Linked DNA regions of Homo sapiens: regions 1, 3 and 4 are each linked to region 2. The links are contacts of gene promoters, found by promoter capture Hi-C in blood cells and fetal thymus (Javierre and others, 2016). All regions are on one chromosome and are shown on one strand. The core of a region is centred on a gene start or on the middle of the fragment in contact, and the rest is flanking DNA. Distances in the headings are between cores, read along the strand shown. Region 1 overlaps SLC9B2 (solute carrier family 9 member B2). Region 2 holds the start of NFKB1 (nuclear factor kappa B subunit 1). Region 3 overlaps SLC9B2 (solute carrier family 9 member B2). Region 4 overlaps CENPE (centromere protein E).

Region 1 (6,828 bases), core at 2,502-5,001, 530 kb before region 2:
TTTGTTTGAGTTTCTTAAAGATTCTGGACATTAGACCTTTGTCAGATGCATGGTTTGCAGATATTTTCTCCTGTTCTAAAGGTTGTCTGTTTACTCCATTGATAGTATCTTCTGCTGTGCAGAGCTCTTTAGTTTAAGAAGGTCCCATTTGTCAATTTTTTGTTTTGTCACAATTGCTTTTGGAGTCTTCATCTTGAAGTCTTTGCCTGGGCCAATGTCCAGATTGGTATTTCCTAGATCTTCTAGGGGCTTTGTAGTTTTCGGTTTTACATTTAAGTCTTTCATTCATCTTAAATTTATTTTTGTATACGTTGTAAGGAAGGGGTCCAGCGTCAATCTTCTGCATATGGTTAGCCAGTTATCCCAGCACAGTTTATTGAATAGGGGGTCCTTTACCAGTTGCTTGTTTTTGTCAGCTTTATCGAAGATCACATGGTTGTAGGTGTGCAGTTTTGTTTCTGGATTATCTAACCTGTTCTATTTGTCTATGTGTCTGTTTTTGTACTAGTACCATCTGTTTTAGTTACTGTAGCCTTGTGGTATAGTTTGAAGTCGGGTAGTGTGATATCCCTGGATTTGCTCCTTTTGCTTAGGATTGCTTTTGGCTATTCGGGCTCTTTTTTGGCTCCAAATGAATTTTATAATGTTTTTTCTAATTCTGTGAAAAATGTCATTGGTAGTTTGATAGGAATATCATTGAATCTATAAATAGCCTTGGACAATATGGCCATTTTAACAATATTGATTCTTCCTATCCATGAGCATGGTATGTTTTTCCATTTGGGTCATCTCTGATTTCTTTCAGCAGTGTTTTGTAATTCTCATTGTAGAGATTTTTTACCTCCCTGGTTAGCTGTATTCCTAGATATTTTGTTCTTCTTTTGGCGATTGTGAATGAGATCACGTTCTTGATTTGGCTCTCAGCTTGTACGTTATTTGTGTATAGAAATAATGATTTTTGTGCATTGATTTTTTATCCTAAAACTTTGCTGAAGTTGTTTATAAGATCTAGAAGCCTCTGAGCAGAGACTATGAAGTTTTCTAGGTATAGTATCTCTGTACTATTCTTGGTATAGTATTTCCAGGTATAGTATAATCTGCGAAGAGAAATAGTTTGACTTCCTCTCTTCCTAATTGGATGCCTTTTCTTTCTTTCTCTTGCCTGATTGCTCTTGCTAGGACTTCCAGTACTCCGGTTAAATAGGAGTGGTGAAAGTGGGCATCCTTGTCTTATTCTGGTTCTCAAAAGGAATGCTTCCAGCTTTTGCCTATTCAGTATGATGATGCTGTCTCTGGGTTCATTGCCCATTTTTCTGTTAGGATCTATGTCTTTTTTTTATTGATTGGCCAATGTTTCTTATTCTGTTACACATGGTACAGATATTTTCTTCTAGTTTGTCACTTTTTTGGTTTATGGCTTCTTTTGCCACAAAACATTTTGATGTTACTCTAGTCAATTGTGTCACTGTTTTCCTAGAGTCTTTTGCATTATGTGTTACAAAGTTAGTTCTTGTATCAATTAGGGTCCTATGAGGAAAGAGAAATCAAATAGTAACTGGAATAGGAAAAGTTGATTATTAACCACACCAGGGATTCCAGTAACAAGGTATTGGCTAGTAAGATGTGAAGACATCCTTAAAGAATATGAGAATAGCACCTATGGCTATAATAGATCATCCCCTTAAGCCTGTACCCTCCACATTCCTGCCTGCAGGGCTGAGATCCAGACTCTGTTAGAGCCTAGAGAAGTCGCTGTGGTGCTGTGCTTGCAGAATTTGCTGAAAATCTACCCTCCCAATTTGCAGGAGATCCATCCCCTTGGGTGCATGGGGAAGTATCTTGCTCAAGAGAATCTGCTACGAAACTGCCCCAGGGGTATGCTAGGGAATGTAATGGCCACTAGGTGCTGCTGGTTGCATGAATTGTAGGACCCTGATACTGGAGAAGCCACCTGGGATGCAGGAACCTAGAGCTAAGGCCACCAGTGCATGCTATAAGATCTTGCTAGGAAGAGCCACAGAAACCAGGAAGAAAAGCACCTTCAGCTTGCAATATCTCTTTAGCACACTCTACTGACAAAGTTTAACATGGTGCTACCTGGCAAAGGAAAAATATTTTAAAGGCCCAGCTCCATTTTCTGTGGAGCAACAGTGAAAGAGGAGCTGGAGATAATGGGCAATAAAGTGATAATTGGCACTGATAATCACTTTAGTAAACCTGGATTTTATTTTTGTGCGTGATTTGAGATAACCTTAAACAGTATTTTTTGTACAGATAAAATTGGAAACAATTTAAAGATCTGTCAATAAAGAAATGATTGAATAAACTATGGTACTTCTATACTGTAGATCACTATGCAGCAGTAATAGGGGCATATCTAGATATATGTACCAATATTGCAAGCTCTCTAAATCATATTGTTGAAGGAAAGTCGACATAAAATTTTAAACTACAAAACACTACTATATATTACAATATGTATACACACATGCACATACACACGATGTATTCAGAAGTAGGAGTCCTCATAAGATTACTTTATAAGAATCTTTTTATTAATATCCATGTGCAAACTAATATTTAGTATGCTAAAACACCTCATGTATCTTAACTGTGATAGAAAGATCTTCATGCAGTTTTTTTGCTCTGTTCTAGCTAACCTTTTAGTTATAGATGGCACAGAAATAAAGCTTATCTCAGGCCAAATAATTCAAACCTCAAATTAATAAAATTCTTTGCATTTGTAACTTCACATAATAAAAATCTGTGTGTGTTTTATTGTTATTTTAGGCAGAGGTTGAAAAGATAATTGCAGTTGCCTGGGACATTTTTCAGCCCCTTCTTTTTGGACTAATTGGAGCAGAGGTATCTATTGCATCTCTCAGACCAGAAACTGTAGGTAAGAATTTCAAAATGTGCTTTTGTTAAAATTCACTTTTTTTGGTCAGCCTACTCACCAATAAAGTCTACTTTTTATATTCATTGAAATATCTCCAGCAGGTATGTGTACAGTGGTTACTATTGTCACAATTATATAAAAAGTTAATTATGATGTAAGTTTTTTAGAGTAGTTGGTTAGAAAATAATGCTTGTTCATCTAAGATGGTATATTTTACACATTTAATATTGTTCCTTGTATATGAAAGTGACACTGCTGACCACTACCCAGAAAATTCAGGCCTTAACAATTCTTTTTCCAAGGGTAAGAATATTCATCTAGCCTTGTCCTGAACAAGAGCGAGAATTTTAAAGACAACTAGTTAGTTCTATAGTTTGTACCCATGGGATAGAAATGCCTTGTTGTTCATTAATTATTTTATTTATTCCTACATTCAAAAGCCATCATATTAAAACTCTGTTGATTCAAAACACTGCACTTAAAAATTAATTTGTATATATGTACTCATTATTTCCTTCTTTCCTTCCATCACAGTATTCTTCCATCCATACTAGGAATCCCATCTCCCGCTACTCCTTCTGAATCTTGCATATGGATTCTTTCCTTTTCTCATACATCTTAAATATCCATGTCGCAATTTTCTTCTCTTCAGAATTTAGTCTCCAATCTCTCTTATCTTAAAAAAAAATGCTTCTCTTCTGACACATGCTGCAACATGGATGAACCTTGAGAACATTATGCTAAGCGAAATAAGCCAGTCAGAAAAAGACTAACCCTGTATGATTCCACTTACATGAGGTATCCAGAGTAGTCAGACTCATAAATGGTACTTGCCAGGGGCTGGGAGTAAAGGGAAATTGTTGTTTAATGGGTATAGAGTTTAAATTCTGTGAGATGAAAAAATTCTGGAGATTGGTTGCATAATAGTGTGAATATACTTAATGATACTAACTATACACATAAAAATGGTTAAGATGGTAAATGTTATGTGTATTTTACTACAATTAAAATAATGTATATTAAAATAATATGTTAAAATTATATATATATAAAATTCCTCTATTTCACTTCCCCCCGTCTCTACCATGCTACCTCTCTTGTCTTCTTTTCGGACTTTTCAAAAGAGGTCACTACATTCCCCTTTCCACTTCAGTTCCCATTTCCTCCTTCTATACATTTTAGCCCAGCTTCTGCCTATCACACAACCTGCCAACCTCTCACACAACCTGCCAGCCTCTCACCAAGGTAATATTGCTAAATCCAGTCTTTGCTTTACTTGATCTGTCAGCAGCATTTGCTGCTTTTGACCCTCTAACACTCCTTTATATTAAGTTCTTAAACTTCCTATTTCCCAGTGCTGTTTGAGCCTTTCCTTACACCATATGTAGCTTAAATGCTGCCCTTTATCAAATTGCTTTCTAACTTTGTGCCTCTGGCTCTATATAACTTCTCTAACCTTATCTATACTAGTGACATCAACTATAAACTGTATAATTCCAAACTATTTATCTCTAAATCAATATATCCAATTGTTGATTGGACAGCACCACTTGTATGTCCTGTTAACGTTCAAACTCAACTAAAACTTCCTTCTCATCCTCTTCTCAAACTTTCAATGTTTCCTTCTGGGAATGATATCAACTCTTTATCTTGTACTTCAGGCTACAGATATTTTTGAATACTTTCCAACCTTGAAGAAATACCTTTCAACAAAGAACCACAAAACTTTCCCATAAAAAAGCCATATGGCAGATTTACAATAGATCCTCCCGCTATGTCTGTCTGATGTTTTACCCGCCCTTTGAATTTGAGAAAACTACTTATCCTTTCTGAGCTTCTGGTTTTTTCAACTATAAAATAATACTTACTCCACGGGTTGTAAGGACTAAGTAAAATAATACATTTAAAGCTTAGTACAGCATTTGGCACAGAGTAAACACTCAACAAATGTTACTTTTTAAAAAATCACCCTAATACTCAGGAGTCACCTTAGCTGTATCATTCTTAGGTCCAGTAGCATGTAGCAGCACTACTCACAATCCCTTGTTTGGCAAATGATGATGAACTTGTCTTTATCAGCAAAGAATTCTACAGGACTAAATGGAGTAGCTGTGTATGTTAACCAGGGATAATTGGGACCAGTACGACCAGTACACATCAGTATGGTGAAACAGTGGTAGACTGCCAGTGTCTATTCTGATTGGTCAGTGCCCAGCCAGCTCTGATTGGCTAATTCCCTCCATACTGGCTCATAAATATTTTAGCTATCACTTCTGGTCTTATACCCTGTAAAGAATTATTGACTTTTTGGGTTAAAATATTGTTTTTCCCTCTTTTATGCCCTTAGTTTGTTTATACCTCACTTACTGTATAGTCTATGAATTGGTTGTTTATGTGTCTTTCTCTGACTTTGAGGCAAAGTCTATACATTGTACATTTATGTGTACACAGTACTTAGTTTAAAGCTTATTACTTATCATTTAATCATATCATTTAATAAATTCTTCTTACACACATGAACAAGCATGGTTCTTGCTATAAAGCATAAGACATATATAACATTCAAATCTCTACATAAGAATTCAAATATGCTTAATTTCTGGTTTTAATCTACAGAAACACCTTATTTTAAACAAATAGCCTGATTGATCCTTAATATTGATTGTTTTTATATATTCTTCCTAAACATTTTTGTATTTGTAATTTTTAATGCTTTAAAAATTATTTCTGTTGATGGTTATTTTGAATTAGTAACCATGAGATGCAGTTTCTCTCCTAGTATTTTATTATTTCTAAAAATTGAATATTTCTTACAGGCCTTTGTGTTGCCACCGTAGGCATTGCAGTATTGATACGAATTTTGACTACATTTCTGATGGTGTGTTTTGCTGGTTTTAACTTAAAAGAAAAGATATTTATTTCTTTTGCATGGCTTCCAAAGGCCACAGTTCAGGTATGATGGATAGGATGGCTTAGCATTTTAACTGCTATTTCTGCATGACACCTTGAAATATTGAATAAGAGGGCTTGTTTAAATTTAGTGAAAATAAATAATTGAAGTGGATTTATGAAAAGAGTTTATCCTAATCTATTCTTTAAAACCTGTATTTTTGGTATATTCATTCCTTAAATGTGATAGCTCATTAAATTTCCTTAGATCACCAGGGTATAAGTAAAAATCCAGTAAATCCCTATTCTACTAGAAAGCAGTAGTAACAGGAGAGAAGAGTTTTCATCAGTCGGCACTCTGTAAGTCACCCAAGGAAAGAGTTCTTAACTCTTTTCATGTTAATAGCTTCCAAGAAGAGAGTAAAATAGAAATAACATGGTTCCCTTAATGTTTGGAGATATTTTAATGTTAATATGATTGATGATCAGTTGAGCTTGACCAGAGTCTTTGTATGTAATGGAGAAAAGATTTATTGAAAAACAACTCAGAAAGCACTTTATTGATTTCCTAGATTATTAGTTGGTATTAATTATTCAAAACTCACTGAACTTCCTGGCAAATGTCTCAATCACTTAACCGAAAATTTGTGCATTCTAATAAACGTGATAAATAAAGCTATTATAGATAGGTGCTTGAATTTGTTGACCATGCATTTGTTAGAATATCTATGATTGCTAATTAAGTTAGAACTGTATAGATTATGATTTGTTGCAAATGTGATGTATCTTTGGTTGTATATTTTCAGACTAATTACATCAAACAACATTTAACTGTTTTGCCCCAGATTATTTTATAATTAAATATTCCAATTTCTGTTATTAAGGAATTAAAATCAAGTGTTTTTCATTTAGGAGGCTTTGGGGGATGTGTATGCTCAGCAGTTATATTCCAGATTTCAATTATGCTCTTTGCATTTGGGCATTACTCCAGAATTCCCCTCACCCCTATCAGACTTTCAAAAATGTCTAAAACATAATGG
Region 2 (6,480 bases), core at 2,190-4,689:
TCTTCCAAACTGTCTGTCTCCAAAGTAGTGACAAAATTCAAAGAGAGATCATATGCTCTTGATGGTTTATTGCTGACCTCTAAGAACACTACAAGTGAGTTCAGTATTTATGGGAGGTGCAAGAGTGCAAATGAGAACTAATTCCCAAAAAGCAGAGTAAATTGCTCCAGTATGGTCTACTGTTTACCAAGACGTAGTCATCAATTAATGCTGATTAGACACAAATGTAGATGTAGGAGCAGAACATCTTAACATATCCTCTAGCACTAACTTCTATTTTTCCTTCTCCTTCTCTTCTAATATAACAATCCCACTACTGTAGACAATTCACCTTGTAAACAGAAAACCAACAGACCAACCGAATAAAACAAACTTCCTACTAAAAGTAAGAAAATTAATGAGAAATTTTGCATAGACATCCATTCCTGTTAATGTGATTTCTGATCAATCTGTGGACCAGAAGAGCATAATCTGAGAATTTACTCTATTGGTTATACAACAGTACTGTGCATTTCCAGATACACTTCCTACTGCAGTCAATTCTATACTCAGAATAGCACATCTACTAAGACCCGAAGATGCAAAAGATGACATTTTGAGTACTTCATCAAAAATCCATACAGCAACTCAGATACAATTATTTTACTGTTTGAAAATATCGACTACTTTTCTTACTTCTCCCAAGTTCAAACCAATTGAAGGTTATGAAGTAACCACTTCCCCCCAGAAGCCAGAACTTTCACCTCTTCTGAACAGAGAAATACCTCTCATAAATTAGGTAAAAATAAGGTCTTGCTGATGGAATGATAGTCCAACATTCATGTAGCTGCCAATTCCCTATCTAGACCTCGTATCTACCACAATGAGCAATCCCTGAAAGTCAAGGTAGTAACTTACTTAATCAATTATCTGCAAGTCTAAAAGTGTAGTTAAAACAACCTGCATAAATATTAGTTTCTCAAACTACTTCAATTTGTTTCCAGGAACAGTAACAACAGAAATGTAAGGAATATAATCACTAAATCTAAAATTCTGCCTATTTCAGATTAATTGTGCTTTAATCAACTCAATCAACACAGATCTTGTTTAAGAGGTAGAGTAAAAAGGAAGTGCAAAGATCAAAGCAATGCTTACAAAGGGGAAGGACTATTTTTGTATGTATACCCCCAGTATTTACTATCTGGGTTTGAAAAACACGGGCATTTACTCAGCACAAGTGAGTGCCAATGCCTAACATAAGAATGAAATTTCAGCAAAAAGATAATAGATTTTCACATCACCACCAACCCCTAAAAGGATTATACTACCTTCTTTAAAAAGTCTCAAAGAGTTTAGAAGTGGTTTGCTTTTCACTGCAAGCAGCTTTTCGGTTCCAGTATTAAATGTACATATAACGTGTGTTCCTTTGTGTTCAAGTTTGTCCAGTAGGCTGCAGCCCAGGAAGACATTTTATCTAAACAAGCAGGGGAGGGCATTTAGGAATTGCAGGTGTATCAATATGGATGAATAATCTCAGATTCCAAGTCTCCATTAATCGTACATGTTCTTTCCATTTTAGCAATTCAATTAAATCATGAATGTAAAATTCTACAGGAAACAAATCTTTTTATTTCCTGTCTTCCCAAGTTTATAAACTCAAAAAAGTACATTGCTTCAAATTTAAATACATACATTTAAATACATAATTCCTATAGTGCCTCAAACAGTAAAAGGATTCATCTCTAGAAAGCACAATATTAAAATCAGAAAAACAACATACTTTAGTTTTAAGTTTCCCTTTTAAAGTTTTAACAAACACGAATGCAGTTTAAACTGCTTGACAATATTCAGTTGTGGGATTCTGCTAGAAAAAAATTATTGAATATCTTGACCCTAACCTTTACTATTTACTAAAAGATCACCAGTATGTAGAATATTTTGATGCCAGAGCTATTAAATGTTTTAGTAATACCATAAGCATTTTTTCAGATTATGAGCTTTATAAAAAAATCTTTGAGTTAAATATGGTTATTTCATAAACTGTAATGCTGAAAACCTCTACTTAACAAAGTCCATGAACATGTCAATCTTGATAATTAAATCCTGTATCATTAAGTCCCATTTGAGTTTCAGGATAAACCAGCAAGTCAGGGCAAACATTCCCTGGTGTCTGTTTTTAAGGACCATAGAAAAACTTGCATTTAGGATAGGCCTTGTTTTTACATTATTTTTGTTTCAGCGGTCATGCATAATGCATGGTGGCACTGTCCAAGAGTTTTACATAATCAAGTCTAAAAAGTGCTCTAAGTATCCAGGTAGGTAATTTATTTTCTCTCTCAAATGCCAGGCCCCGGAGGATCAGAATCAAGTCCTATAGCAGGTGACTATATCGTGTGTGTGTGTGTGTGTGTGTGTGTGTGTGTGTGTGCGCGCGCGCGCGCGCACGGAGGGGGGGAGGGGGGAGAGAGAGAGAGACAGAGAGCGAGCCAGGTTTCTTTTAGAAGTAGGAGAGGGATGAATAGACTCTCCTATTCAATTCTGGGGAGCTGGGGAGGGCTTTCCCAGCCAAGAGGACTGACAAGCACTTCTGCTTTCATTTCATGGAACGCCCTTAGGTGAAATCTGGTTCTGCACTGCACCAACCACCTTCCCTCTCTCCTCCGCGCCGCAGCGCACTCCAACCTTCTCACCATCCCCCAGGTGGGGCTGGGGTTGGGGATTTTAAAAGTTTGTAAGAGTTCCCCTCCGGTTCGCGTTCCCGCCCCGCGGAGGGACGTGAAGAGAAATGACCGCCGGGCGGCCGCGGCCCTTCGGCCGACTAGCCCCTGCGAGGTCCGGATGTGTCTTTCCCCGCTGTCGCTAATCCCATGTGCCTCTCAGCTACTGTCAACCTCCTCCCACGGTCTAGCCCAGCGGTTAGCGCAGGAATGAGGAAGTCCGAGTGGGGCTGGAGGGGGTGCGGAGGGCTGGGCGGCAGGACTTGGGCCACGCGTCCCCTGCCGGGCCCCCACTCGCCCGAGTTTGGCTTACCCGGGTGGCGAGTCCGCGTTCGGCCTCCTGGCGCGGGTGGGCTCTCCCTCCTAAGCGGCGCGGGCCTGCCGGCTGGAGAAGGAAGAGGCGGCGGCAGGCCGGAGCCCGGGCGGGCCCGAGTGCGGGTCGGGGCGAGCGGGAGCGCGGCGGGGCCGGGCCAGGCCAGTCAGCGCCGCGCCATGGCCGCAGCGCGGGCGGAGGGAAGCGCAGGGCGCGCGGTGGCCGGGCGGCGGCGCCGCCTTACTGGCCGGGCGGCTGCGGCCTCGGCGGCGCTGGGCTCCGGGAGCGGGGCCGGTGGCTGCGTGCAGGCCGAGGGCTGCGGCGGCTGGCGGCCCGACCGACGGGAAGGGCAGGGGAAGCTGTCAGCGCGTCGCCGGGCCGCTCCGGTGGCGAAACCTCCTCTTCCTGCCCCGGCTCGCTGGTGCACTTCTCTCTCTTTCTGTCTCGCTCACTCTCTCACTTCCTGGCTGGAAATTCCCACTGACGTCGAGAGAGCATACAGACAGACGGACACACGCGCGCACGCAGCGGGGGCGGGAGGTAGGGTCGCTGCCGGGGGTGGGGGAAGCCCGCACTTCTAGGGGCGCTGTGCGCCCCCGGCCCGGCCTTGCCGCTCGCCTCGGCTCCCGCCCCTCGGGGCCGCTTCGGGGCGCCGGGCGAGGGGCGCGCGTTAGGCGGCCTGGACGCCGCGGCCCCTGCGGGGCTCTGGCTTCCTAGCAGGGCGCTCCCGAATCCCAAGGGCTGGAGCCGGTAGGGAAGCCCCCAGGAAGCGCCTGCCGGGCCCAATCAATGGTCGGGGAACGCAGGCAGCACGGAGGCGGCGGCGGTGGCAGTGCCGCTGATAGAGTCATGCGGTCCATAGCCCCTAAGGGCAGGCCCGAGCAGCTGGAGGGTCGGCATGGATCCAAGCATGCCAGATATAAAAATAAAGCTCATCTGTATATTCCATTTAAGCGTGTCTCAGTTACATTCACATCTCTTCACAGATTAAACTACAATTTCGTTATCATAAACGACTTGTGCCCAGTAAAGTATAACCCTCTACTGGTTTTTGGTGCGGTCTTAAATCTCCTGGTTATAGAGCAGTTACTCAGAATGTTCATCTACAAGGCATTGTTAGGCCTTTATGATAATTACTGTGGATAGAATTATAGTGATGGTGGTAGCAATGGTTTTGGTTCACAGCTCATAAAATACTGATCTGGCAGAGGGGAGTTTTCTTTTTCTCTGAAGAGACCGCTACTGGCACCCACTGACAGGCCTCCCAGTGGCCACCATTCACTGGCATCTGAGCTGCTTTAGTGCTGGGCACTGTATTAGGTACAGGCTGGGGATACCTTCGGGTGGATTACCTCCCCACATAAGAAAGCTTGAGCCGAAATATATATTTTAGAGCTCATTGTTTCACTACTGGGTGGAGTGACAACTGAAAGCTTAGCTTTAAAACATCAGTAATCAGGTCCTCACCAGGCAATATTGCAGTGGCATTTAGATTGCTTATGGCATGTTCATCCTAGTCCTTTCGTGCCCACTCTCCATCCTCCTCCTCCAGTAGGTTATAAAAACCTTCTTGGTGGAGTGTTTTTCTGGAAAAAAAAAATAAACAAAAAAAACCCACACACACAAAAACCCAGCGATCCATTTGATTGCCTATGAGGTGAGTCTCCGAGGCGACCTTGGAGGCCCCAACAGTCGACCTTTAAGTGATCTCATTTAGCTCCGGGAGGCTGAGCAGCTGGAATTTAGAGGATCCATAAAGACTGAACACAATGACTTTTTAAGAAATTCTGTGAGCCGGGTGCGGTGGCTCACACCTGTAATCCCAGCACTTTGGGAGGCCAAGGCGGGTGGATCCCCTGAGGTCAGGAGTTTGAGACCAGCCTGACCAATATGGTGAAACCCCATCTCTACTAACAATACAAAAAAATTAGCCGGGCGTGGTGGCGGGCGCCTGTAATCCCAGCTACTCCAGAGGCTGAGGCAGGAGAATCGCTTGAACCCTGGAGGCAGAGGTTGCAGTGAGCCAAGATTGCGCCACTGCACTCCAGCCTGGGCGAGACAGAGCGATACTCTGAGAAAGAAAGAAAGAGAGAGGGAGGGAGAGAGGGAGGGAGGGAGGGAGGTGTGAGCATACACACTCTACTTTTCATTCTGCAAGGGGTGGCAGCCCCATTACCAAAAGATAGATAAATACAATTGTTATAAGAGTAGAGCCAGTGTGACATATTTGGGAGTAAAAAATGAAGAGCGTTAATTACTGAAAAGGATTAAATCAAACTCCAAACTCAAAATGATTCCATAAAATGAACTTAAAATTCAGGGTAGGGTGTTGAGCAGGCATATTTTCCTGGGGCTGCTGTAAAAATTTACCACCGACTGAACAGCTTACAACGGGAATTTATTCTGTCACAGTCCTGGAGCCTAAAATTCTGAACTCAAGGTGCCATTAAGGCCATGATCCCTCTGAAGGCTCTAGGGAAGAATCCTTTGCCTCCTCCTAGCTTCTGGTAGCTCCAGCAATCCTTGCCATTCTTGGCTTGGCTGCAACACTCCATTCTGTGCCTACATTGTCACATGGTCTCCTTCCCCGTGTTTCCTTTGTGTCGCTATATTCAACTCTCCCTCACCTTTCTTTTATGAAGACACCAGTCATTGGATTTAGAGCCCACCCCAATCCAGTATTACCTCATCTTAACTTGATAACATTTGCAAAGATCCTAGTTCCAAATAAACTCATGTTCACAGGTACCTGTGGTTAGGACTTGAACATATGTTTTGGGGGGATGTAATTCCATGCAGCACAGCAGGCAAAACTATAAAAGCTTTTTGGCTTGCTGATTAACCCTCCTCCATTCCTGCTTTGTTACCCAACATTTTCTCTACACTGTACAAACCTGCTTCCAGGAATATCTCTTACAAATTCATCCATCCTAAGGTGTCAGAAGGTATTTGCCATTATCAGGCTACGAAGAGGAAAAAAATGCCTCAATGTGGAATTTCAGACATCAATATTGTCTAAAAGACAAGTTATTTTGTGTTTGTCACTTGTCTTAGTTCATTTGTGTTGCTATGGCAGAATACACAAGACTAGGTAGCTTATAATGAAAAGAGGTTTATTAGGCTCACAGTCTTCAGACTGTACAAGAAGCATGGCACCAGCATATGCGTCTGGTGAGGGCCTCAGGCTGCTTCCACTCAATGGAAGGCAAAGGCGGGTGGTGTGTGCAGAGAGATCGTATGGCGAGAGAGAGGGGAGAGATGCCAAACTTTTTAGCAACCAGCTCTCATAGGAACTAATGCAGTGAGAACTCACTCATCCTCTCCTCCTTGCAGGGAATAGCATCAATCTATTTGTGAGGGATCCACCTCCATGACCGAAACATCTCCCATTAGGCCCCACCTCCAAAATTGGGGTCACATTTCAACATGAGGTTTAGAGGAGACAAATACCCAAACCATAGCATCACTAAA
Region 3 (7,330 bases), core at 1,949-4,448, 560 kb before region 2:
TGGAATGACTAATTTTAGCTAATTAACATATGTATTACCTCACATAGCTGTCATTTTTTGTGGTGAGAACACAATACATTCACTGTTAGTATTTTTCAAGAATACAATATATTTATTAACTACAGTCTTCATGTTGTTCAATAGACCTCTTAAACTTATTCCTCCTGTCTAACTGAAATTTTGTATCCTGTGACCAACAACCCAATATATATCACCCAATATACTTGAGTTATATGTGTGTGTGTGTGTGTGTGTGTGTGTGCGTGTGTGTACATTTTTTTTTTCATGGATCTTCAGATTTAAAGTCTAGAGAAAATTACATGTCAAGGCATTGGTCATGGTCTTCCTGCCACTTTCACCTCCCCCACCCAACCTTTTTTTTCCTGGAGACAGGATCTTGTTATGTTGCCCAGGTTTGTCTTGAACTCCTAAGCTCAAGGGATCCTCCCACCTCAGCTTCCCAAGTAGCTTGTTACAGATGTATACCACTGCATCTGGCAAAACTAGTTTTAACCGGCCAACTTTTAAATGCCTGGAATCTATCCACAATTTTTCACTTTTATAAATCATATTTTCAAAAGATAAAGATAATTTTAACATCAAAATATAAAAAGAATTGTTCAAAAACATAAACATCCATTCATCAGCATTATTTATTTATTTTTATTTTTGACACATATTTGTACATATTTGTGGGGTACAATATGATGTTTCAATACATGTATATATTATATAATGATCAAATCTAGCTAATTAGCATATCTAACACATGAAGCATTTATCGTTTCTTCATGGTGAGAACATAGAAAATCTTCTGTTTTGAGGTATACAATACCTTATTCCTGACTATAGTCACGTTGCTGTGGTACAGAACAAACTACTCTTCCTATCTAATTATCACTTTGTACCTGTTGACCACTCTCTCCCCATAACCCCAAGCTCCTCCCCTCCCCAGTCCCTGGTAATCACCATTCTATTTACTATTTCCATATGAACAACTGTTTTAGATTCTACATATGAGTGAGAACATGCAGTATTTGTCTCTCTGTGCCTGGCTTACTTCACTTAGCATAATGTCCTCCAGGTTCATCCATGTTGTTGCAAATGACAGGATTTCATTCTTTTTTATGGCTGAAAAGCATATCATTGTGTATATACACATATTTTCTTCATCCAGTCATTCATTGTTGGACACTTAGGGTTGATTCCATATCTTGGCTATTGTGAATAGTACTGCAATAAACATGGGAGTGCAGAAATCTCTTCAACATACCGATTTCATTTCCTTTGGATACATACCCAGTAATGGGATTGCAGGATCATATGGTAGTACCATTTTTACTTTTTTGAGGACTCTCCATACCATTTTCCATAATAGTGGTATTAATTTACATTCCCACCAATAGTGCACAGAGTTACCTTTTCTCTACATCCTTGCCAACCCCTTGTTATCTTTTGTCTTTTTGATAATAGCCATCCTGACAGGCATGAGGTGAAATGTTGAACATTTTTTCCTATACCTGTTTGGCCATTTGTATGTCTTCTTTTGAAAAATTCAGGTCTTTGCCCATTTTAAATTGGATTATTTGTTTTCCTGCTATTGAGTTTTTTGAGTTCCTTTTATATTCTGGACATTAACTCCTTGCCAGGTACATAGTTTGCAACTGCTCTCTCCCATTCTGTAGGTTGTCTCTTCACTCCGTGGATTGTTTACTGTGCAAAAGCTTTTTAGTTTGGTGTAATCTGGTTTGTCTGTTCTTGCTTTTGTTGCCTATATTTTTGGAGTCATATCCAAAAAGTTATTGCTCAGACCAGTGTCATGGAGCTTTTTATTTATGTTTTTTTTCTAATAGTTTCATAATTTTATGTCTTACTAAATTTGCCTTTTAAAGAAAATTTAAAGGCAATTTCAAAAATTGTGTTCAAGAATAATAGCATCATTGAAGTAAATATATGGATGCCCACATATGTTTACTGAAAAATGAGACTCAATTCCATAGTTATACTTTGTGGGCTCTGAAAGACATGTTTACCATTATCATCTGGGACAATGAAAGATAAGCATAATATACTATACTTTAGGCTCTAGATGTGTTTTTAATGAAACCAAGTCAGTTTACTTAACTAAGCATGGAAGAAAATCTCAAACTTAGAACATGTACAGAAAACCAGAATCCAAAAATATACACTAGCTGATAAGATCACAGATAATTGAATACCTTTTCTGTTCTTTTCATTATTTTTTTAAACTTTTATTATTCAAAATATGGCCTACTTATAGTTAAAACGTTTACAATGAAACAGATATGGACTGACATAAGGAAAGAGTAAAAATGAATAATGTAATTTTGGGACACATTTTTTAAAAATGTATAATCGTTCATAAAGCAGCCTGAAAAATGAGGTTCATGGTAGATAAACATCTCATCGCTTATTTTTCTGTTCTTCTGTTCCAGAGGTTTACAAGACGACTTTTGTCCTATATTTTTTCCTGTGCCTATGCAGTATATATCAGTATTCTTCTTAAAAAGTAGGCTGGGCACAGTGGCTCAAACCTGTAATCCCAGCACTTTAGGAGGCCAAGGCAGGTGGATGACGAGGTCAGGAGTTCAAGACCAGCCTGGCTAACATAGTGAAACCTCATCTCCACTAAAAATACAAAAAATTAGCCATGCATGGTGGTGGGTGCCTGTAATTGCAGCTACTTAGGAGGCTGAGACAGGAGAATCACTTGAACCTGGGAGGCGGAGGTTGAGATCGTGCCATTGCACTGCAGCCTGGGTGACAAGAGTGAAACTGTCTCAAAAAATAAAAATAAAAAAAGTAAATCTTACATGTGAAAATTTGTGGTTTTCCATAATCGTAAATGAGAAGTAAATTGTTAACTGATTTAAACATGATTTAGAGAAACCTTATAGACATACCATTTGCTATGTATTTACAACTGTGTTTCAAGTAAAGCACAGGGAAAGAGAGATTTTTTTAATAGTCTTGAAGTAGAAAAATCTCTCTTTTTTTTTTTTTGAGATGGAGTCTCACTCTGTTGCCCAGGCTGGAGTGCAATGGCTCGATCTCGGCTCACTGCAAGCTCCACCTCCTGGGTTCAAGCAATTCTCCTTCCTCAGCCTCCTGAATAGCTGGGATTACAGGCACGTGCCACCATGCCCGGCTAATTTTTGTATTTAGTAGAGACGGGGTTTCACCATGTTGGTCAGGCTGGTCTCGAACTTCTGACCTCATGATCCGCCTGCCTCGGCGTCTCCCAAAGCGCTGGGATTACAGGCGTGAGCCACTGCGCCCAGCCGAAAAGAGAAAACACTTAATTCTACCTTGCTGAATTTAATATTAGCTTGGGTTTATGCTATGATAAAGTATAATTTAGTATAATAGCTGGCAAATCCTGCTTTCCCATTCTACCTCTGATATCGCATAGAAATTTCAACCCTTGTAGCTAATTGGAAAATACTGGAAGTCCCTTAGGTATTCCACTGCAGTAGTATCATAAGCCTAGAAAATCTGGAACAATTCTGTGAGGGTTTAGAAAAAGGGACATTGAATTCAGTCTCTAGCAGTATGGTAGATGAGACTCAATGAACAATCTTGTCACAAACCAAGGACATCATCTGAAAAAATGTTTTAAGTCTTTTGAAATGATCTGTCAAGAAAACAGGGAATCATCAGACACCAAAACCAAAGTGTAAGTAGCAGAGGTCAGTAAGCACTCAAGGTGGCCCCACCCTGGAGGTTTCTACCAAACCTCAGGGAACTTTTTTTTTAATTATTATTATACTTTAAGTTTTAGGGTACATGTGCACGACGTCCAGGTTTGATACATATGTATACATGTGCCATGTTGGTGTGCAGCACCCATTAACTCGTCATTTAACATTAGGTATATCTCCTATTGCTATCCCTCCCTCCTACCCCCACCCCACAACAGGCCCCGGTGTGTGATATTCCCCTTCCTGTGTCCATGTGTTCTCATTGTTCAATTCCCACCTATGAGTGAGAATATGCGGTGTTTGGTTTTTTGTCCTTGCAATAGTTTGCTGAGAATGATGGTTTCCAGCTTCATCCACGTCCCTACAAAGGACATGAACTCATCATTTTTTATGACTGCATAGTATTCCATGGTGTGTATGTGCCACATTTTCTTAATCCAGTCTATCATTGTTGGACATTTGGCTTGGTTCCAAGTCTTTGCTATTGTGAATAGTGCCTCAATAAACGTACGTGTGCATGTGTCTTTATAGCAGCATGTTTTATAATCTTTTGGGTATATACCAGTAATGGGATGGCTGGGTCAAATGGTATTTCTAGTTCTAGATCCACCTCAGGGAATTTGAGATTGATTTTGAGAGCGCTGTGAGCACAGGAGGCTAAGCTAGAGCCTGCCCAGGTTGGGAGAAGTCTAACAGGAAAAAGCATTCTCCTTCACCCATATAAAGTTGAAACCCAGTGTGATGCCAAATTTGAGGTAAATCTGTTCTGCAGATGGGGCCTCTGACTAAACCTGTCTCAACTGTAGTTGCTGGCTGGGGCAGGTGTGGAGTCGCCAATAAAAATGTTTAACTTCATCCTGATTTGTCTCCAATTTCACAGAAAAAATTCAATTTGAAAATGTATCTATTTTCAAAAAACATTTTCAGATGGTCTTGGATGGGAAGCTTTTAAGTACATGGTAGAAGTAAATTCATTCCCATCTGGGAAAACTCATTCAACCTAAGGCTTCAACAAAGTTAGACAAAGTTCCAAGGGAGAGCTCACTGTTGCAAAAGACAAACTAAAAAGTTTAGTTTTAGACAAAGTTCCAAGGGAGAGCTCACTATTGCAAAAAACAAACTAGACAAAGTTCCAAGGGAGAGCTCACTATTGCAAAAAAACTAAAAAAAAAAAAAAAACAAACAAAAAAAACATGCAAAAGGAAACAAAAAAACAGATTTCAAAAATGTACATTATCAGAAAACAGAATATAAGACATTTATATATATAAAGAAGTTAAGAATTAGAAAACATGAGTACAAAACAAGTAACTTTTAAAAATGAATAGATTTGAAGAAGAACCAACTTGAACTTCTAGAAATGAAAGATATAGGATAGTAATTGAAATTAAAAACTCACTGGACAAATTAGGCAGCAGATTAAGTGAAAAAAATGGTGAACTGGCAAATAAATGTGAAGAGATTATCTAGAATGCAGTACACACAAAGATGAAAGATACGAAAACTAGGGTTAGCAACATGGAAAAAGAGAATGGGGAAGAGGAAATCTTTGAAGAAATAAAGGCTAAGAATTTTCCAGAACTGATTTTTTTTAAAAAACATAAATCTTAAGCAAAACAAAAGGAAGTCACACCTAAACACATCATACTGAAAGGAAAACCAAAGAAAAAGAGAAGATGTTGAAAACAAGGAAAAAGAATTCCTTTAAAAAGCTGAAATCAGGCTCTTCAAAACCAGAAAACCAAGGAATAGTATTTTCAAGGAATGGAGAAACAATAACACTCAACCTAGAATTTAACATAAAACTGAGGTATACCTAGAAAAACTATCCTTTAAGAATGAGAATAAAGATAATTCCAGATGATACAACTAAGAATTTACTGTAACAGATTCTCCTGAGAAATACAACATGCTGTGATACAGAGTGTTTCTATGTCATGAATTAGCTCATATGCAATGGTAAATAGAATTTTGTTAGAGTGTATGGAATTTGCAGTTTTGTGTATAATTTTTCCTGGCCCATAATATTTTGTATCGTCAAGCAATAGCAAGTGAAGGCAAAGTGAACTGGGGAAGAAAAGACCAAATATATGCTTTCTTACAATTAAAGATAAAGCCTTCCCTGCATGAGGACCTTTTAAAGGACGAAATCTCTGTGGAAGTGCTGACTTTTCATGCAATTAGTAGCTGGTTTAGGGGCTTCAAGGACTCAAACATTCTACAACATTAAGCTATCTAATAAAACACATGTGGATGAAGCGGCTGAGAGTATAAGCTGAGGTAAAGAAGCTGCCAACGCTTTTCCTTTTGTTGAAATTTATTGTATTGAGGCAGAGGGCTAAAATATGGATCAGATTTTGATGGAACTGCTCTCTGTTTAAAGAAAATACCCTCAAGAATTTCCATCTTGAAGTAGGAAATGGGAGGCCAGGTTTAAGTCTGTAAAGAACAGACTGCCTGTATGGGACACAAATGTCAGTGTGTAGATTCATCTGTGCTAAGACTCTTATTAGGATTGTTTTGGTTTTTCTTAGTGCTTTGGCCACCAGTTTTGAGTGGTCTGCCCCAACTCTCTTTTTCCCATAAACTTTTCAATTTTTAGTGCACAGTTTTGTAAAACACAAGTTTTCAAATGGAAACATTTCACTTTTTTTTTGGCAGGGTATCGCTGTGTAACACAGGCTGGAGTGCAGTGGTGCAATCGTAGCACACTGCATCCTCAAACTTCTGGGCTCAAGGGATCCTCCTGCCTCAGCTTCCCGAGTAGCTGGGATTACAGATGCCCACCACCATACCCAGATAATTTTTATATTTTATATTTAGTAGAGACAAGGTCTCACTATGTTGCTCAGGCTGGTTTCGAACTCCTGAGCTCAAGCAATCCTCCTGCCTTGACCTCCTAAAGTGATGGGACAGGCATAAACCACCATGCCTGGCCTATTTCACATTCTTATAGAAATGCTTTTCCTAAAGGAAATGCTTTAGGCAGCAGGATAATTGTCCCAGATGAAAAATTTGAGGCTGGATGAGGAGGTTCACACCAGTAATCCCAGCACTTTGGAAGGCTGAGACAGGAGGATCACTTGAGCTCAAGACTTTAAGACCAGCCTGGGTAACAAGATGAAACCCTGTCTCCACTAAAAAATTTTTAAGAAATTAGCCAGGCATGGTGGTACACACCTGTAGTCCCAGCTACATGAGAGGCTGAGGCAGGATGATCACTTGAGCCTGGGAGGTTGAGGCTGTAGTGAGCCATGATTGTGCTACTGCACTCCAGCCTGGGCTACAGAGGGAGACCCTGTTTCAAAACAAAAAGAAAGAAAAGTTTGAGATGCCATAATGAATGATGATTTCAAAAAAGGTACCTTAGTAGGTAATTCTAAACAAATATTGACTATAAAAAAAGTAACAATAATGTCTAATTCAAGACAGAACTAAATTTGTGTTAAAATTATAAAGAAAAAAGTGAATGGTGAAGAAAGTCAAAATAATGGTTCCTTCTGGCAGTATAAAGGGAGATGGATGGGGAGGGGCACATAGGCAGATTCAAAAGTACTGGTAATATCCGATTTCTTAAGATGTTGGCAGTTACCCAGTTGGTCATCTTA
Region 4 (6,958 bases), core at 3,787-6,286, 610 kb before region 2:
ACATCCATAGATTTTAAATATACTGGTCTCATTACATATGCAAAGTTTTTAAAACTAAACACAATTCTGATCAATTAACACGCTGTGTCTTTGAACACTTCTTAGTCATACAGAATATAAACAATTTTAAGTGGCTTTTGTATGCCTGAAAGTGAACATTAAGAGTGTGTGTGTGTGTGTGTGTGTGTGTATTTAGCAGTTTTACTAAGGCTTCTGTTGGTTCTCTTAATTTCATTTGTTGGCCTTACTGTGTTTCTGTGTGAAGATTATATTTCCTTTTAGTTTATAGTTCCCTAGGGCCCAAGAGCAAATCCTCTTTTTATTGATTTATTTATAGGTAGCATTATACATAACAGCATGCCTAAATTCTTTGTGGTATAGCATAATGAAAAGAACATTAAAGAGAGTCAAGGAAACTGAAGTAGAAATACGTTCTCAATCCCAGCACTTTGGGAGGGCTACACGGGCAAATCACGAGGTCAGGAGATAGAGACCATCCTGGCTAACACGGTGAAACCCCGCCTCTACTAAAAATACCAAAAAAATTAGCCGGCATGGTGGCAGGCGCCTGTAGTCCCAGCTACTTGGGAGGCTGAGGCAGGAGAATGGTGTGAACCCGGGAGGCGGAGCTTGCAGTGAGCCGAGATCGCACCACTGCACTCCAGCCTGGGCGACAGAGTGAGACTCCATCTCAAAAAAAAAAAAAAAAAGAAATATGTTCTCACTTACTAATGCATCACCTTACACTGTTTATTCTCTCTGGTCCTCGCATTCATAATCAATAAGGAAAGGTTTATTTAGAGGATTTGTTAGGATGCTTCCTGGCTTTTAACACTTTTCATTCTTCCTATATAAATCTTGAATAAATATTTAATGATCTCTTATTTTGCCCAGGAAGTAGCATTGGAATTTTCATGCTCTCTAAGCAGTCTATTGGTTTCAGTGAAACATAGATCTATTAGATTCTTAATTATAAAAACAATTTTACTTGTAGAATAGGGTCAGCAGGGCCGGGCACGGTGGCTCACGCCTGTGATCCCAGCACTTTGGGAGGCTGAGGCAGGCAGATCACCTGAGGTCAGGAATTTGAGACCAGTCTGGCCAACATGGTGAAACCCCGTCTCTACTAAAAGTACAAAAATTAGCCAGGCGTGGTGGCAGGTGCCTGTAATCCCAGCTACTCAGGAGGCTGAGGCAGGAGAATCGCTTGAGCTCAGGAGGCAGAGGTTGCAGTGAGCTGAGATAGCGCCATTGCACTCCAGCCTGGGGGACAAGACCAAGACTTCGTCTCAAAAAAAAAAAGAAAAGAAAAGTAAAGAATAGGGTCAGCAGATACAGATAATTCATAGTCATTAAGAAAGGCAGAAAGTCTTATAATTTATCGTTACTGATTAATGCGTAAACTAACAACTCATAAAATGTCTCTTTCTACTGGAGAACAGTGATCAGAATTTGACCTTTGTAGCACCTTAGACCAGAGCTGCAGTCAGGGTTTGCTTTCCTGACCATACAGAAATAAAGCTGCACTTTCTCTTTCATGCTCCTTATACCTTCAAATATTTCTAGGACCCCATGGTAAAAAATAATTAGGTAATTATAATTTTGTTCAATATACAATGAATTAGGCCTCCAGAAGCTTTAAAAGAACTGGGGTTTCTCAATATAAGAAAATCGGACTGTCCCTGCACCCAAGCAGAATGCTTCTAGTTTGATGGCATTAATGCCATAAGGCACATGGCACCAGAGAGGTATCACGAGGGCTTATCTACTGCCACTTACAGGCATTATGTCAATGTGATGTGTTAGAAAATCCTTCACAGCAGTTCTGTTTATTCTCCTGTAAAAAATCAGTTGCTGAGCTTTTTACATATTTTTATTGTTTTTGTTAGAATCAGTGCTACAAAAGCCACTGTAGAATATCAAAAGGAAGTTATAAGGCTATTGAGAGAAAATCTCAGAAGAAGTCAACAGGCCCAAGATACCTCAGGTAAGTAGAAAATGCAGATATTTTCAGATGAAATTTTACTTCTCAACACACAACAGACTTTGAAGACTAATATTATGTAGTATGTGACAGTCGAGAGTAAACAGAAGTTGGCCACTAATCTATTTTTAAATGAATTTATTGGAACCATATTTCCAGATATCTTGTGACATCGTTTGTTGTAATCTTAGATGCTTATCCATTATAGATTCTTGAAAAATACGAACTCTGCTTTTGTATTGTCAAATCTTTACCTATTAGTGAAGATACCTTCAGGCAATAAAGGAATGACTTATACTATATCAACATGGAATTATGCTTCCCAATAAAACGAAACACATGTCTTCGTAGATTTTAATTGTATGCATCTAATAAGTTATAATTGGTGTACAGTAAAAATAAATACTATTCTGTTTGTTCTTGAAACTAAAAATACCAAGTTAATATTTACTTGCAAAGGTCTTTGAAATTTATCTGAGATACTTTTTAGATCTGTTGGTCAAATTTCTCAATATACATGCATTCCTCAAACTACCTTTATTCATATTCTGTCTGTCATGTTCCATTTGAAAAGAAAGAATGCTTGAACAGTACTTGAGATAGCTTTACGCAGTAGAACAAGTACTGAACTAAGATGCAGATCTCAATGGCTATATGAAATCGTGGGGTTAGCACCTGACCTTCTAACTTATAAGCATATATGTATGCTTATATATATACTTATTATAAGTATATATACACTTATAAGTATATATACACTTATTATACATATATAAGTATACATAATAAATATATAAGTATATATAGTATAAGTGTATAATATATAAGTAATATATCTATTACTTCTTTATTACTTACATGAGTAATATATAAGTAATATAAAATATATATTACTTATATATTATATATTATATATAAGTTATATATTATATATAATATATATTATAATATATATAAGTATAACATATATAAGTAATATATAAGTTATATATTATATATAAGTAATATGTAAGTAATATATATAAGTAATATATAAGTATATATAGTAAATACTTATATAATTAGAAGTATTATACTTATAAGTCTATAGAAGTATATATACGAGTATATGTACTTATATACTCATACATACTTTTTTACAGGAGAATAAACAGAACTGCTGTGAAGGATTTTCTAATATATACATATATATGTATACACTTATATATACTTATAAGTATATATACACATATACTTAAAAGTATATATATACACTTATATACTTATAAGTATATATACACTTATATACTTATAAGTATATATACACTTATATACTTATAAGTATATATACACATATACTTATAAGTATATATATACACTTATATATACACTTATATACTTATAAGTATATATATACACTTATATACTTATAAGTATATATATACACTTATATACTTATAAGTATATATATACACTTATATACTTATAAGTATATATATACACTTATATACTTATAAGTATATATATACACTTATATACTTATAAGTATATATGTACACTTATATACTTATAAGTATATATGTACACTTATATACTTATAAGTATATATGTACACTTATATACTTATAAGTATATATATACACTTATATACTTATAAGTATATATATACACTTATATACTTATAAGTATATATATACACTTATATACTTATAAGTATATATATACACTTATATACTTATAAGTATATATATACACTTATATACTTATAAGTATATATATACACTTATATATACTTACAAGTATATATGCAGACTTATATATACTTATAAGTATATATCCACTTATATATACTTACAAGTATATATACAGACTTATATATACTTATAAGTATGTATACATTTATAAGTATATATACATACATACACATATATACTTATAAGTGTATATATGTATATGTATATGTGTATATATACATGTATACATAAGTATACTTAGTATATATAAGTATATATGTATAGATATGTATATATAAGTATATGTATGTATAAGTATATAAGTATATACATATATATGTAAGTGTATATTTGTGCGTGCACATGTATATATGTGTATATACTTACATATATATACTTATATATAAGTGTATATATATATACACTTATAAGTATATAGTACAAGCAAATATCTTATGTTTTGCTTAGTATTTGGAATTTTCAATATGCAATATATATTATATATAATACTTATATATTTACAGAATATATAGAATTCTGTATATTATATGTTACAGGATACATATAAGTGTATACACATATATATGCATGTGCACACATATATATAGTTATGCTCACACATATATATGGACATGGTATATGCACATATTTTTTGCAGGTAGTAACACTTCAGTCATGGGGAAAGTAATTTTTAGAGCTCATGTAATAAGTGTCTTTTTTAAAAAAGTGTATATACATATACACTTATTTATATACATGCACACGCACACACACGTACATAAAGATCAAACCGAAAGTTGTGGGTAAAAACACATTGAAAATTCCAAATACTAAGCAAAACATAAGATGATATTTGCTTGTATTATAGTCCACTTGTTTCCAAAAATAGATGGTGCTAAAGGTGTTAAGGTGTTACCTAGTACCTGTTGTAGCTTAAACTTCCCTAGTGTCTGTTACAGGATAACCACAGCACCTACCGAGAAAACTTAAAGGGGTAAAAATAGAAGTGAGGATTCTTTGTTTCAGAAGGTTGAGGATATTTATTCTTGATTTGTAGATGACTTTCAGGTACATAGTGTAGATGAATTCAAAATAAAATAGACATCAAGAATCACCCCCAACACACACACTATCCCTCTTTTGTGAATTCCCAGTGACCTAATGGATTAATCCACTTCATAACTATCTCACATTTTGTGCAACTTTGCCTACAATTTACAAAACACAGTCTCTTTACACACATAGTGTAGAATATTTAATATGTGCTTTAATATTATTGTAACATATATTTAGTTAATAATATGTATTGAATACATATAATGCACTGAATGACGGGGTGGCCCTCCCACCCTACCTCACCTCCCCGCCACACACGCAGTGTGTTGTAACAAGCCCTTCAGGGGAAAACTGATGTAGAAAATATAGATCAATAAAGGACAGCAGTAAGTGGAGAGGATTGCTATTGCTGCAGTCAGGGTGAAAGAGCTTGGTGATCAGGATCAGGATATGTTAGTGGAATTGGTTGAGGGGGATTCTAGAGGCATAGAATTAATGGTTGGTCAAATAAGCAGAGGGAGTAAGGTAGAAGGCAGAAGTCAAGGGTGACTTCCAGGGAAATAAGACTTGAGCTGTTTGGGTCTCTATAATGGCTTATTGTACTTGGTAGTATTTCCTTTATTTTGAACTTTGGAGACAATTAAAATTATCACCTATTTGTATATTTTCCTCCCACAGTGATATCAGAACATACTGATCCTCAGCCTTCAAATAAACCCTTAACTTGTGGAGGTGGCAGCGGCATTGTACAAAACACAAAAGCTCTTATTTTGAAAAGTGAACATATAAGGCTAGAAAAAGAAATTTCTAAGTTAAAGCAGCAAAATGAACAGCTAATAAAACAAAAGAATGAATTGTTAAGGTAAGATCTGCTTACATGATACGGATATTATGCTTACGGCTATTACATATATGTAGGGACATGGTATATGCACGTATTTTTTGCAGGTGGTAACACTTCAGTCATTATGGGGAAAGTAATTTTTAGAGCTCAGGTAATAAGTATCTTTTTTAAAAAATGAGAATATGGTAGCACTATTCCAATGTTTGCTGTCTATCAACTGACCAATTCTTAACCAAGGCAAGAAATAGGAAAGAAACAAAGACCTTTGAGGGGGCAGCTGAAATACACCACAAGTCCATATACCCAAGCCAGTGAGGCTTTACTTAGAGAGGAACTCCTTACGTCCATTATTGTAGGCTTTTTACTTTATAAACAGATCTAACAAATTATTCGGCTTCTACCACGTGGAAGAGTAGAATCTTTTCCCCAAGCACTCTACTATGATACAGTAGAAAAAAAAGCGTTAAATAATTTTACAAATAACTAACTCTGCCATGAGTGCTATTAAAAAAGAAACAAAAACAAAAAGGACATTATAAAAGGGTTATATTATGAAAGAGAGAGATCCAACGTTATCTAGGTGTTAGGGGTGGAGGGTTGGTTGATCAGGAAGCCAACAAACAGGCATACCTCGTTTTATTGCACTTATCTTTCTACTATACACACTGGGAACCCAAAAGATTTCCGCGATTCACTTTATTTCAGTGATCTGGAAACAAACCTGCAATATCTCCAAGGTATGCCTATATCAGAATAGATATGAAAAATGAGTAGGAATTAGGCTAGATGAGGGAAGAAGGATAAGTTTTCCAGGCCAGGGGAACATGTTCACGGGCTTTGAGTTAAGAAGAATAACTAATTGGTGGGACTGAAAGACATCCAGTGTGGCCAGAATGTAGAGAATGAGACAGAGTAAAGTGCAAGACAAGGTGCCAGAGGTAACTAGATTCAGATTACATGGGCCCTTATAGTTCATTTTGAAGAATATGGAGTGGTATCCTAAATGTAATGGCAGGATTACCTGCACTGGAGGGTTTTAAGCTAGTGGCCTGATGAGATCATATAGCATCTTTGGCTGCTAGAGCATTATAGAGGGATCAAATTTTAGAATGTGTTTATGGTAGTTCAGACAAAAAGTAATTTTAGCATGGACTAGCTTGGCCCCAATAGGGATAAAAACAAGGAAGTGAATTTGATAGATAGGATGAGAGTGTATCAAGAGACTTGGATGACTTAAAATAAAAGAGAGTGAGGTCTCTAGGATTGCTTCCCAGGTTTCTCTCCGGAGGAACTGGATAAATGCTGGTGGCATCTCCTGTAAGAAGCAGCATTGTAACTAGAAAAGCACAGTGTAATATTTAT

Evidence for each region. The method cuts DNA at HindIII sites, captures the fragments that hold promoters and counts their contacts. A CHiCAGO score of 5 or more calls a contact.
Region 1: a fragment that was not itself captured here is called in contact with the fragment with the promoter of NFKB1 in region 2 in 13 of 17 cell types (total B cells, erythroblasts, naive B cells and 10 more); the score reaches 11.5 in total B cells.
Region 3: a fragment that was not itself captured here is called in contact with the fragment with the promoter of NFKB1 in region 2 in 8 of 17 cell types (total B cells, erythroblasts, naive B cells and 5 more); the score reaches 10.6 in total B cells.
Region 4: a contact is called between a fragment that was not itself captured here and the fragment with the promoter of NFKB1 in region 2, in 1 of 17 cell types (neutrophils). The highest score is 5.4, in neutrophils.

What each region holds. Positions count from the first base shown.
Region 1 is chr4:103,027,771-103,034,598 of GRCh38, reverse strand. SLC9B2 (solute carrier family 9 member B2) reads left to right here. Exons shown (of 12, transcript NM_178833.7): 10 at 2,791-2,899; 11 at 5,716-5,852. Among named protein-coding and RNA genes, the nearest start is that of SLC9B1, 11 kb to the right of the region's middle. The HindIII fragment of the contact is 2,118 bases long and covers 2,693-4,810 here.
Region 2 is chr4:102,498,318-102,504,797 of GRCh38, reverse strand. NFKB1 (nuclear factor kappa B subunit 1) reads right to left here and starts at 3,439. Exons shown (of 24, transcript NM_003998.4): 1 at 3,010-3,439. NFKB1-AS1 (NFKB1 antisense RNA 1) reads left to right here and starts at 2,312. Exons shown (of 5, transcript NR_136202.1): 1 at 2,312-2,359. RefSeq lists an enhancer at 2,760-2,809 and silencers at 2,920-3,489, 3,500-3,759. The HindIII fragment of the contact is 5,238 bases long and covers 1-4,380 here.
Region 3 is chr4:103,058,113-103,065,442 of GRCh38, reverse strand. The region is part of intron 3 of SLC9B2 (solute carrier family 9 member B2); the gene reads left to right. Among named protein-coding and RNA genes, the nearest start is that of SLC9B2, 15 kb to the left of the region's middle. The HindIII fragment of the contact is 2,943 bases long and covers 1,727-4,669 here.
Region 4 is chr4:103,109,484-103,116,441 of GRCh38, reverse strand. CENPE (centromere protein E) reads left to right here. Exons shown (of 49, transcript NM_001813.3): 46 at 1,890-1,987; 47 at 5,431-5,614. Among named protein-coding and RNA genes, the nearest start is that of BDH2, 13 kb to the right of the region's middle. The HindIII fragment of the contact is 6,795 bases long and covers 1,639-6,958 here.